Regions from separate parts of the Homo sapiens genome. Here all the other regions are linked to region 2. The links are contacts of gene promoters, found by promoter capture Hi-C in blood cells and fetal thymus (Javierre and others, 2016). All regions are on one chromosome and are shown on one strand. The core of a region is centred on a gene start or on the middle of the fragment in contact, and the rest is flanking DNA. Distances in the headings are between cores, read along the strand shown. Region 1 has its middle 24 kb from the start of IFNB1. Region 2 holds the start of HACD4 (3-hydroxyacyl-CoA dehydratase 4). Region 3 has its middle 22 kb from the start of IFNW1.

What was found. The method cuts DNA at HindIII sites, captures the fragments that hold promoters and counts their contacts. A CHiCAGO score of 5 or more calls a contact.
Region 1: a fragment that was not itself captured here is called in contact with the fragment with the promoter of HACD4 in region 2 in 3 of 17 cell types (neutrophils, monocytes and megakaryocytes); the score reaches 7.0 in neutrophils.
Region 3: a contact is called between a fragment that was not itself captured here and the fragment with the promoter of HACD4 in region 2, in 1 of 17 cell types (megakaryocytes). The highest score is 5.5, in megakaryocytes.

What each region holds. Positions count from the first base shown.
Region 1 is chr9:21,099,693-21,103,597 of GRCh38, forward strand. No RefSeq gene overlaps it. Among named protein-coding and RNA genes, the nearest start is that of IFNB1, 24 kb to the left of the region's middle. The HindIII fragment of the contact is 5,655 bases long and covers 1-3,905 here.
Region 2 is chr9:21,028,738-21,033,164 of GRCh38, forward strand. It overlaps HACD4 (3-hydroxyacyl-CoA dehydratase 4), which reads right to left and starts at 2,903. Exons shown (of 7, transcript NM_001010915.5): 1 at 2,816-2,903; 2 at 558-661. The coding sequence starts at 2,853. LOC105375989 (a long non-coding RNA gene) reads left to right here and starts at 2,905. Exons shown (of 3, transcript XR_007061435.1): 1 at 2,905-3,263; 2 at 3,735-3,914. RefSeq lists a silencer at 2,679-3,038 and an enhancer at 2,682-3,242. The HindIII fragment of the contact is 3,612 bases long and covers 1-3,284 here.
Region 3 is chr9:21,117,142-21,121,678 of GRCh38, forward strand. No RefSeq gene overlaps it. Among named protein-coding and RNA genes, the nearest start is that of IFNW1, 22 kb to the right of the region's middle. RefSeq lists an enhancer at 1,850-2,109. The HindIII fragment of the contact is 962 bases long and covers 1,009-1,970 here.

The DNA.
Region 1 (3,905 bases), core at 1,374-3,873, 71 kb after region 2:
TGTAATCAATTCAACAATCCTACAGAAAAGATGTTATTATTCTCATTCTATAGAGAAGGAAACTGAGGCTGCTCAAAAATGTTAAGCATATTTTCCAAGGTCAAACAATTAATCAGTGGGAAGCCAGAATTTAAATACTGTTTCAGAATCTGAACAGATCTCATGATCTTAGCCTCATTAATATAATGATAATCAGATGTTTGTGCAGCGCTTTAAAAAAACTTACTTTACTTATTTATCTGTCTTTTCAGAGACAATGTCTTGCTCTGTTGCCCAGGCCGAAGTGTAGTGGCACAATCGTAGCTCACTGAAGCCTCCAAATGCTGGGCTCCAGCAATCCTCCCATTTCAGCCGCCTGAGTAGCTGGGACTATGGGTGCATGCCACCACACGTGGCTACTTTTTAAATTTTTAAATAGAGACAGGGTCTCACTATATTGCCCAGGTTCACCTCGGACTCCTGGCGTCCAGCTATCCTCCCACCTTGGCCTCCTAAGGCATTGGAATTATAGGCATGAGCCACCATGCTTTAAAATTTTAATTAAAGTAAAATGCTCATAACATAAAATGTATCACCTTAGATACTTTTAAAGGGTGCAGTTCAGTAGTGCTATATTCACATTGTAGTGAAAATAGTCTCCAGAACTCTTTTCGTCTTGCAAAATTTAAACCCTATACTTATTAACAACTCACTGTTTCTCCCTTTCCCAAAATCCTACACTTTCTGTATCTATAAATGTGACTATTCTAGATACCTGATAATAAGTGGTCATATACTATTTGTTTATATGTGTGATGGGCTTATTTCAGTTAGTGTACGGTGCTCCAGAATCCTCTTGCAGCATGTGTCACAATTTCCTTCTTTTTTTTAGACTGAATAATATTCCATGATATGTATTGACCACATTTTTTAAAAATCCATTCATCCGTCCATAGGCATTTGGGTTACTTCTATCTTTTGACTACTGTGAGTACTTTTGCTTTGGATATATACTTAGTAGTGGAATTGCTGGATATATAATAATTCAATTTTTAATTTTTGAGGAACCACCGTACTGTTTTTCATAACTCCTGCATCATTTTACATTCCCAAAAGCAGCCCACAAGAGATCCTATTTCTCCACATCAAAACGTTATTTTTTTCTTTCTTCTTTTTCTTTTTTTATCATTGCCATCTTAATGGGTGAGAGGTGATATGTTTTTGTGGTTTTGATTTGCATTTCCTCAGTGACTAATGATGTTGAACAACTTTTCATGTTCTTGTTGTCCATTGTGTATCTTATTTGGAGAAATGGCTATTCAAGTTATTTGCAGATTTTATAATTGGATGTCTGTTTTGGTTGAGTTGTAAAAGTTATTTATATATTCTGAATACTAGTCCTTTCTAAGATATAAGATTTGCAAATAGTTTCTTCCATTCTATAGGTTGCCTTTTCACTTTCTTGATAGTGTCTTTTGAGCACAATAGTTTTAAATGTTGATGAAGTCCAATTTATCTGTTTTCTTTTGTTGCTTATGCCTTTCCTATCTTATCTAAGGATTCATTGGCAAATCCAAATCATAAAGATTAATCTCTACATTTTCTTCTAAGGCTTTGCTCTTACATTTAGGTATTTGATATATTTGAAATATTTTTTATATGATGTGAAGTTGGGGTACAATTTCATTATTTTGCATGTGAATATCCAGTTGCTAGGGCAACTGGGTATTGTTCTTTCCACATTGAGTGGTCCTCGTACCCTGGTTGAAAATCAATTGACTATAAACATATGGGTTTATTTCTGGACACTCAGTTCTATTGCATTGGTCTATATGTCTACCTTTATGCAAGTACCACACTGTTTTGATTACACTAGTTTGTAATATATTTTCAAATCAAGGAAGGGTGAGCCCCCCCAAATTTGCCCTTATATTTTCAAGATTCCTTGAGCCCAGGAGGTGGAGGTTGCAGTGAGCTGAGATTGTGCCATTGCACTTCAGCCTGGGTGACAGAGCAAGACTCTGTTTTGAAAAAGGAAAAAAAAAAAAGATTTATTTTGGGTATCCAGAGTCTCTTGCAATTTCATATAAATTTTAGTATTGGATTTTTAATTTCTGCAAAACCAGCCATTGGTATTTGAATCAAAATTGCATGAAATCTATAGATTACTCTGGGGGAATATTGGCATCTAAACAATATTAAGTCTTCCACTTCATGAACATGGAAGGCCTTTCCATTTATATAGGTCTTCTTTAATTTAGTTCGGCAATATTTGCAGTTTTCAGTGGACAACTCTTACATATCCTTTGTTAAATTTATTGCCAAGTATTATATTCTTTTTGATGTTATTATAAATGGAATATTTATTTTAATTTTTTTGAATTGTTCATGGCTAGTGGTCTTTGTTTTCTGTTCCTATAACAGACCACCACAGAGTGGGTAATGTATAAAGAAAAGAAGTTTATTTAGCTCACAGTTCTGGAGTCTGGGAGCTCCAACAATACACAACCAGCATCTGGTGAGAGTGTTCTTGCTGCACCATAGCATGATTGAAATCTGCACACTGTGTATAGGGCAAGTACAAAAGAGCCAGAAAGAGCTGGATAATGCCTAAAAATATGTGAGATGAGAATAGAAAGTTTGAAAGATCCAGCTGAACTCAACAAAACCTATCATTTGAAAGGCAGGGCTAGAACTAGAAACTGGAAAGTTATCTGCATCCTATTCAAGTGTATTATAGTGCCTCTGGAATAAGAGAATGGTGCCTTTTGGTAACTAAGGAAAATGAGAACAGGAATGTAATGTATTAGTCAGAAGGGCAGTCTAATGGTTACCATGGAGACTCTGTGGCTGGACTGCTGGGGTTCTTGTCATAGCCTCAGCCTGCTCCATGTTGTAACCTTGGGCACCTTATTATCCTCCGCTACATGTAAATGATAACCACACATATTTTGATAGGTTGTCATGAAGATGAAGGACAAAAACCTTATGATCATTTCAATTGATGCTCAAAAAGCATCTGATGAAATTCAACATTCATTCATAATAAAAGCTCTAAAAAACCTAGGTATAGAAGGAACATACCTAAACACCATAAACGCCATATAAGACAAACCTACAGCTAGTATCATTCTGAATGGGAAAATTCAAAGCCTTTCTCTAAGGTCTAGAACAAGTCAAGGATGCACACTTTCACCACTTTTTTTCTTTGGGACAGAGTCCCAATCTCTTGCCTAGGCTGGAGTGCAATGGCACAATCTCAGCTCACTGCAACCTCCGCCTCCCGGGTTCGAGCAATTCTCCTGCCTCAGCCTCCCAAGTAGCTGGAGTTACACGTGCCCACCACCATGCCTGGCTAAATTTTTGTACTTTTAGTAGAGACAGGGTTTTGCCATGTTGGCCAGGCTGGTCTCTAACTCCTGACTTCAGGTGATCCACCCCTCTTGGCTCCCCAGAGTGCCAGGATTACAGGCATGAGCCATAGAGCCCAACCACTTTCATCGCTTTTATTCAACATTGTACTAGAAGTCCCAGCCAGAGAAATTAGACAAGACAAAGAAACAAAAGGCATCCAGATTGGCAGGGAAGAAGACAAATTATCCTTTTCCAGAAAAAGCTAAATATTTCACCAAAAATACTATTAGGACTGATAAACAAATTTGGTAAAGTTGCAGGATACAAAATGAACTTACAAAAATCAGCATTTCTTGAAAATGGCTTTTATCCAAAAGACAGGCAATAACAAATGTTGGTAAGACATGTAGAAAAGGAAACTCTTGTACACTGTTGGTGCAAATGTAAACTAGTACAACCACTATGGAAAACAGTTTGGAGGTTCCGCAAAAAACTAAAAATAGAGTGGGATAACCCAGTAATCCCGCTGCTGGGTAGGCACCCAAAAGAAAGGGAATCAGTATATCAAAGGG
Region 2 (4,427 bases), core at 1,653-4,152:
GGAAACTAGAGGAAGTTTATGACTTAAACCATTAATGCTGACTCCTATATAAGTGGTTAGCCCTCTACAAAGTGTGTCATTTACATATTACTTCTTAAAGGGACCAAATAGAGGCTTGGGGAATATAAAATTTGTATTTCACTTACTAGTAGTCTCCAGTTACCTCAAACCTGGGGAATAATACAAACACTGGAAGAATTTGATTCATTCCTGATTTCTCTGCATAAAATGTTATGCTGAGATTTCCTCAAAACACTAGAAATCTGCTAAGGTTTGGTACAGAATGGAAAAGGAACAATGAAATGATACCACCTCAGTGCCATCCATCTCTTTTTTGAGGCAAACTGCCAACTCAGGGGGAAGCCAAATCCCTTTCCCTTACTTATCCCACCTTCCCCCTTCCCCAAGAAGGTTTTGCAATAAACATGGTTGCTAAAAAATACAAATTTTAGAGAAGGATATTAGAAGGTTGAGGTGTGTAGAAATTTAATATAAGCAGGATGAGGTGAAAACAAGGATTAAAAGTTAAAAATAAAAAAACTGTTTCGGAGTTTTACCTTTTCCAAATGAAAAGAATCTGACTGTCATATTTGTAAATATCCAAGAGTGGCCACAGAACTGGATTAAGTAATAGATGAAAAGATACGCATTCTTCCTATACCTATAAATACAGGAAAATACCATTAAACACTTCTTTTATAATCATCCTTTCATCACTGTACACATGCCCTTTAATGTACTGGCCAACCTGAGAAAGCAAAAGAAAACTGTTTCATATCAGTCTTTTATCTGGTTACCCCCAAGTACATATCAGATTTTGAAGGGAGCCATAACCTACACTACCCGCTAAAGTAAATACAGATGCTTCTTCACTTATGATGAAGTTACGTCCTGGTACACCCCATCAGCTGAAAATATCATAAACTGAAAATATCATAAGTTGAAAATGCATGTAATACAACTGATCTACAGAACATCACAGCTTAGCCTAGTCTACCTTAAACTTGCTCAGAACACCTACATTAGCTTACAGTTGGGTGGAATCATCTGGCAACACAGTGCACTGTGGAGTACCGGTTGTTTACCTTCCTGATCATGCGGCCGACTGGGAGCTGCGGCCTGATGCCGCGGCCCAGCATCATGAAAGGATATCATACCTGCACATCGCTAGCCTGGGGAAAGATTAAAATCCAAAATTTGAAGTACGGTTTCTAATGAATACATATCATTTTCACACCATCACAAAGTTTAAAAAATTGTGAGTCATGGACCATCTGTATAGTGAGTTTGCTTAAAACCAAATATAGTGCTTTTTCAAAATCTGCTTTCATCTTTGATAAAGTTCTAACCTTGCTGCTCACCAAGGAATAAAAGAAACCACTGCGAAGGTGGCTTTGAATATTCTTTAAAAAAACAAAACAGGCTGGGCGCGGTGGCTCAGGCATGTAATCCCAGCACTTTGGGAGGCCAAGGCGGGTTGGATCACTTGAGGCCAGAAGTTCAAGACCAGCCTGGCCAACATGGCAACTTACAAAAAAAAAAAAAAAAAAGCCGGATGTGGTAACGTATGCCTGTAATCCCAGCTACCTAGCTGCTCAGGAGGCTGAGGCAGGACAATCACTTGAACCTGGGAGGTAGAGGCTGCAGTGAACCGAGACAGCGCCACTGCACTCCAGCCTGGGCGACAGATCAAAACTCTGTTCTCAAAAATAAATAAAAAATAAAAAACAAAACAACAACAACAACAAAAAATCCATGTGTGCAGAGTGGTTGACATGTCACTATGTGTTCCAGTAGCTCAGCTTGCTAAGTGCAGAACTTGAGACACAGTGTTTTAGTTCTGAAGGGGGGTAGGGATGGGAGTAATCCAAATGTTGGGTAATTCAGTAATTGGACACACCTGACTTTTGAACACATTATGTGATTGAGGTTAGTATTAACATCTTGCCACTGCCTATTAACATTTTGCAAGGGTAGATAGTTTCCTTCATCAGATACATATCGAAAGCAGTTTAGTTGCTCATACCAGAAGAGGGAAGTCAAGCTGGGTTTAACAATGTGTTGTGAGTTGCTGGGGAGATGACTAAGAGAAGATTGACAGATAGATGGTTTGAGGGAGTTAGGAAAAGCACTGTTTGAAATGTTCCCTGGGAGTTCAGAAGAGTGACGGGAGTGGCCCTGCCAGTGTGGTCAAGATTTACTCCTCCTTGAAGATGTGAAACCTCCTAGAAACAAGGAAAATAAGCTGGGAGGCAGAATGATTTTTATTTGGGGACATCCTCCCCTATAAAGGCAGGAACTGCTAAAGGGTTTGGGAAGAGGAAATCCTCCTTCAGCTTGTATCAGAATTACCTGGCTTGTGGGTTAAACATATACACCCCCAGGCCCTACCGCTATATGACTGAATCTGTTCCCCGCCGGAACTAGGCCCTGAAATCTATACGTGTGATAGGTGTTTCCACGGCTGTTACATCTAAAAATCACCCCGCAACTCTGCGTCTGAGAAAGTCAAGAGAAGGCTCCTGGGGGGAGGGAAGTACTGGCAGAGGGCTCACAAGGGCAGGGGTAGCCATGCAGCCTGTCCTTCCCATTCAACTGTAAAATGGAGAAAATAACAGAGCCTGCTTCCTAGGGTGGTCAAGAGGGGTAAGTTAGCAAATACCTGCATGAGCTCCAAGGGGTGCCTGGGCACGGTAGCGCTGCGCCTTGCTGGCGGGCGGGGGGTGCCGCCCGCCCGCCCGCCGCAGAGGGGAGCTCCCGCCTCCAGGCCCTCCACCCGCGCCCCCTCCCCTCGGGATTCGGCCGAGCGCCCTACCTGGGCTGCAGCCAGGCGGGCAGCGCCAAGGGCCCCATGGGCCGCCGCCGCCAGGGCTTCCAGCGCGGTCCAGGAAGGAGTACCGGGGAGGAGGCAGGGGCGGCCCCGCGGCTGGGCGCGGAAGGGCGGGGCCTCTCCACACTCAGCAGTTTACAAAAAGAAAAAGCCCGAGGTCGTGCGTTGGGGAAGAGATGAAAACGAAGTTCTCGAAGTTTCTGCAGCACTGCTAGAGCGCGTCAGGGCGCAAGGCTGGGAGGCGGCTCGCGTTCCCGGTGGGGTTACCAAACTCTGGTTACAGCTTCCTAATCTTTGTGTTGAGACCCCCTTGCAAGCCTTCTGGAAATTAATGCATCTGGGCGATTTCCGGGGCCTCCGAACTCGCTGAAGCCCATCCCCAAACCTCCCGAGATGAGTGGATTCCAGGGTGGGCTCTGCTCAATGCCCACCGGTGAGCCAGGTTCAGACACGAAGCTTGTGCCGGGCGCAGTGGCTAATGCCTATAATCCCAGCACTTTGGGAGGCCGAGGCGGGAGGATCTTTTGAGCCCAGGAGTTCGAGACCAGCCTGGGCAACATAGCGAAAACGCGTCTCTACTAAATGTACAAAAATTAGTCGGGCATGGTGACGCGGGCCTGTGGTCCCAGCTACTCCAGAGGCTGAGGTGGGAGGATCGCTTGAGCCTGGGAGGTCGAGGCTGCAATGAGCCAAGATCACGCGGCTACACTCCAGCCTGGGTAACAGAGCGAGATCCTGTCTCAAAAAATAAATAAAAATAAAACGAAGTTTGTAGCACACCTCCCCAACACTTTTTCAGCTAGGGGCCTGATTCCTCTTCTATCAGGCCTCCCTGCTCTCTAATCTCCCTTGGGTTCTCACTGGTGCCTGCAAATCTTTATTCACGTTGTGTTAATTTCTCTAGCCTATGCCCAGCACTGCTACAACCCCTTCGTGATCTCTCAGGCTTATGACATCACTGTCTCCGTACACAGATGACCCACCCTCCTGCTTTGCTAATAAGATCCAGCCCATCTTCAAGCTCCTCTGCCCAGAAAGGGAAACGTTAAAACAAAAACAGAAACATCTAAGAAGGCACTTGCAAGTAAGTGGGACAATGGCACCTGGTTTTGGAGTTGGAAGTTAGCGCCCCCATTTTTACCAAAAGGGAAGTTGAGGCATTAAAAAAATGTTAAGTCACTTGGCACAGGTCACACAATTGATAAAATGGCAGTATCAGAACTTCAAGGTTGGTGGGATTTCTTGTTTGTTTCCCATTAGGCCGTGGCTTCCTTTTTTCATAGTCCATTCCATTCACTATGCCTACCTCTCACCTCTACATTTCTCTGCACCTTCTCTCATACCCTGCCCTCAGTCGGAGGTTAACCCCAACTTTGTGTTTACCAGTCCCTTCTCAGACTCACTGCATCAGTAGTTAACCATCGCCTCTTCTTGCATCGTCATCCCCTCCTTTCCATTGGCTTTCACTGCACTTTAGGGACATAGACAACTCTCTCTTAGCATATAATTAAACATTGTATTCTTTCTGTTTCTCTCTCAATGGAATCTTCTAATAACTCCCTGCCTGCCTTCTCTGATCAGGTGCTTCTTTCATTTC
Region 3 (4,537 bases), core at 240-2,739, 87 kb after region 2:
CTGAGACTTGTTTTATGACTTATCATATGGTCTATCTTGGAGAATGTTCCATGTGCTGATGAAAAGAATGTATATTCTGCAGTTGTTGGATAGCATTCTATCCTGTATTCTATAAATATCTGTTAAGTCCATTTATTCTAGGCTATAGTTTAAGTCCATTTTTTCTTTGTTGACTTTCTGTCTTGGTGACCTGTCTTGTGCTGTCAGTGGAGTATTAAAGTCCCCCACTATTATTGTGTTGTCATTTATCTCATTTCTTAGGTCTAGTAGTAATTGTTTTATAAATTTGGGAACTCTAGTTTTAGGTGCATATATATTTAGGATTCTGATATTTTCCTGTTGGACTAGTCTTTTTACCATTATATAATTTCCCTTTTTGTCTTTTTTATCTGCTGTTGCTTTAAAGCTTGTTTTGTGTGATGTAAGAATAGCTACTTCTGCTCACTTTTGGTGTCTATTTGCACGGAATATCTTTTTCCACCCCTTTACCTGAAGTTTATGTGAGTCCTTATGTGTTAGGTGAATCTCCTGAAGACAGCAGAAACTTGATTGGTGAATTCCTATCCATTTTGCCATTCTAATATTAGTACTGAGGTGTAAGGGACTATTCTATTCATCAGCCTGTTTGTCGCTTAAATACCTTTTTTTTTCATTGTGTTACTGTTATATAGTTCCTGTGAGATTTATGCTTTAAGGAGGTTTTAGCTTGGTGTTTCAAGGATTTGTTTCAAGATTTAGAGCTCTTTTTAGCAGATCTTGTAGTGCTGGCTTAGTAGTGGTGAATTCTCTCAGCATTTGTTTATGTGGAAAAGACTATCTTTCCTTCATTGATGAAGTTTAGTTTTGGTGGATACAAAATTCTTGGCTGATAGTTGTTTTTTTTTTAAGGAGGCTTAAAATATGACCCCAATCCCTTCTAGCTTGTAGAGTTTCTGCTGGGAAATCTGTCGTTACTCTCATAGGTTTCTTCTTTACAGGTTACTTGATGCTTTTGCCTCACAGCTCTTAAGCTTCTTTCTTCATCTTGACTTTAGATAACCTGGTGACTATGAGCCTAGATGATGATCTTTTTGAGATGAATTTGTCAGGTGTTCTTTGAGCTTCTTGTATTTGGATGTCTAGGTTTCTACCAAGGTCAGGGAAGTTTTCCTCAACTGTATTTTCAAATATGTTTTCCAAACTTTTAGATTTCTCTTCTTCCTCAAGAACACCAATTATTCTAAGGTTTGGTCATTTAACATAATACCAAACTTCTTGGAAACTTTGTTCTTTTTTAAAATTCTTATTTATTTGCCTTAGTTGGATTGGGTTACTTCAAAAACCTTGTCTTAGAGCTCTGAAGTTCTTTCTGTTGCTTGTTCAATTCTATTGCTAAAACTGCATTTCTCTAAGTGTGTCCTTGATTTCCAGAAGTTGTGATTGTTTTTTATTTATGCTATTTCCCTGAAGATTTTCCTTTCATATTCCATATCATATTTTTTATTTCAAGGAGCAGAATACTATTTTTGGATGTCTTAACACAGGAAAAGGAAATAGAACTCTGTGTGCCCAGTTCCTTTACCTGTAAAATTAAGATAACCATAGTCCTACCTCGTAAAATTGTGGCAAGGATTAATTGTTTAATTTATATAACACACTCAGAATGATTCCTGGCACTTAACTAAGGGTACTTAAACGTTAGCTCTCCTATTTGAAACTGATTGGAGGATTATTCCCTAATGTGCTAGTTCTGCAGGAAAGTGAGTTAATTTCAAGAAAACTGGCCAGGGAACATTTTAATGCCAGCTCAACTACTCACAATGGAGAGGCAGAAATAGCCATTCACTTGGTGACTGAAGCAAGCATGTTGCAGCAAAGATCCCAGGGTATAGACAGAAGCACTGCTACCTGGCACACACACACCAGCTGTCTACAATGGCACACTTTACTTTCCTGGTTTCTTGGTTCTGTCTACCATTTGAGGAGCTAAAAGCTTTCACCAGAATAACACAGGCATCTTTCAGGAAGCCAGAAAAAGGATCCTGTGCTCTGTGAAGATAAGCTGCACTCTCCTCAGGCACGTGCCAGGCAAGAGAGGAATCCCCGCTCCATTCTTCAAATCCAATTTGTCAACTCACATTTAGTTCCCTTTTCACTTGTTGCATCATTCTTATTGTTATTTTTGCACCATCCGGTTCACTGTACAGTCCCTGTGCAGTCATTGTACAGTCCCTGTTTATCTATGATGAAATAAAACTGCATTTAGTTGTAAGTTTTAATGGTATGAAGGGTTTTTGGTTTAACTTTAAAGAAGTGCCAGAAACTGCTTCAGAGACAGGAAGCTCCTGCAGAAAACCGATAATAGACATGTTCACCTGTTTGTGGAGGGAATGGAGCTGGTGCTTATTCAGCAGCTGCTGTGTGTTGTCTGTGTATTCTCTTCTTAACTCTAGGCCTGGCTGCATTTATGCCTGAGAGTGGTTGTGAGGATTAAATACGTCCAGCTCAGACAAGTGCTTGATACCGAAAGAGAAAAGTAAACCCAGGCTGGAGGCTCACTGAAGTCTGTATTGGATAGAGCCAATGTGGAGTTTCTCGCAGAGGGAGTCCAGGTAGCACCTGGTAGAAGATGTTGGGTGGGCAGCTGTAGGGGCCAGGGGAAATCTTGCCCTTTGACCTCTGAAGGTTCCGTGAAAATCAATTGACAAAAGGCAGATAGATTAATAGGTGAAAAGGCATACAAATTAATTTTATCATAGTTTTATGTGTCATGGGAGCCTTCAGATTGAAGGGCCAAAGACACCATTTCTATGCTTAGGTTAATGAAGAATTGGACAGCTATGTAGAAAAATGACTGGATAAAAAGGGCATGATCTAATGCTAATAGACTGAGTGAGGAAGCCTAGCAAGGCCTGTCTGTCTAGATTCTTCTGGGCTTTTTTGTGCAACATTCCTTACTCTGGGAATGGGGCAGGGCCCTCTCTGAATGGAGTTATAATCTACTTTTAGATAAAACAGGTAAAATAATTTCTTTATGGCCAGTTTTTATGCAGAAAGACAAGGAGAAGGTTGAATTAATATGATTAGGTTTTATGGTTGTCATTGGGGAAAGGATTTCTGGTTTCTATGGCCTGCCTTGGGAAGAGAGATTCTAGAGAATAAGGGTCAAAGAGAGAGGGGCAGGAGGAAGTCAGAGAAAGTTTTGCTTCTGAGGCTGCTTCTGTGGCCGTCATTTTGGGGTATTGTTTTCTGAGCCTCAGCACAGCCCTTGTGTATCCCTGGGCCATCAATCCATTGATGAGAGCATTCTAACTGTGGCTGGCGGTGAAGAGTGTAGGACCCTCTGGTTGTGTTTGCATAAAGGAGAAGGGTCATTATTGTGAGAAAGAAAAAGTAGTGTCTTTTTCTCACCCATTACAAGGTTCATGGCTAATACCCCTATAATAAAAGAAGATTAACAAGAGAAAACCATAACTAATTTTAGAAACAATTTTTTTTATGAGAGACAAGACGATTTAGAAATGAAGATCCAAAGACCCAGGGAAACTGTCTATTTTTACGCTTAGGTTTATTGAAAAATGGACAGTCATGTAAAAGCATATTGGACAAAAAGGGGATATGAAGTATTGTTAATAAACTGAGGGGGGACTTAGCAAGGCCTACTTGTTCAGATTATTCTTGGTGTCTCTGTGTCTTTATTCCTTTCCTCCAGAAGCAGGGAAGGACACCTGTCACATGGGGGTCTTGCGACCTACTTTCAGGGGAGATAGGACAAAGCATTATTTTATGGCCAACTTTCACACAGAAAGGTTAGACAAGGTCAGAGAATGACCTTGAGTCTGCAGTTTTCTGAATTTTCAAGGTGCCATTATTTTGGGGTAGCATGTCGGGAACCCTGATATTAACATGAGTTAGGCAGAGCTCCCCCGCATCCCCCCTGCCCAGTGAAGTGGCCTAGTTCCTCCTGGGTTCCAAGGTGACAGAAGAGAAACTGAGGAATGGATCTAGTCAAAGACTTTTGACTATGACAAGATATCCAGGATGTGGGAAAAGGAAAAGGAACAGAGAAATGTCTGACAGCAGTGGCACATAGATGGCATGCTCTGCCTCTTCACACCAGGTTTGAGGTCTGAAGGTGGATTCCCTACCCAACAAGCTGTTGGCTTGTGGTTATAGAGAGAGCCCACAGTGGGAAGAAGCAGCTTCAGGGACTGAATGAGGGTGAGCAGGAGACAGCATGCGGAAGACAGAGAAACAGATTTTTTTTTCCTTTCCCTGAACTTAGGCTTTTTCTTTGTGGTTCCCAAGTTTCACAGAAACTTTTTAGGTTGCTGAGCAAAATTTTCCAACGTAATTAGGACTTGGTGAGATTACCCCTCATTTTATTATTGTAGTGGGTATTGTTTTTAAACTAAGCTGCTGTAAATATGTTGGGTGTATTTTCTTCTTAACCCTGGGCCTGGCTTAATTCACCCCAAAGAACAGTTGTGACGATTAGATACATCCAGCTCAGAAAAGTACCTGGTATCCAAAGGGAAAAGTAAATCCAGGCTGGAGG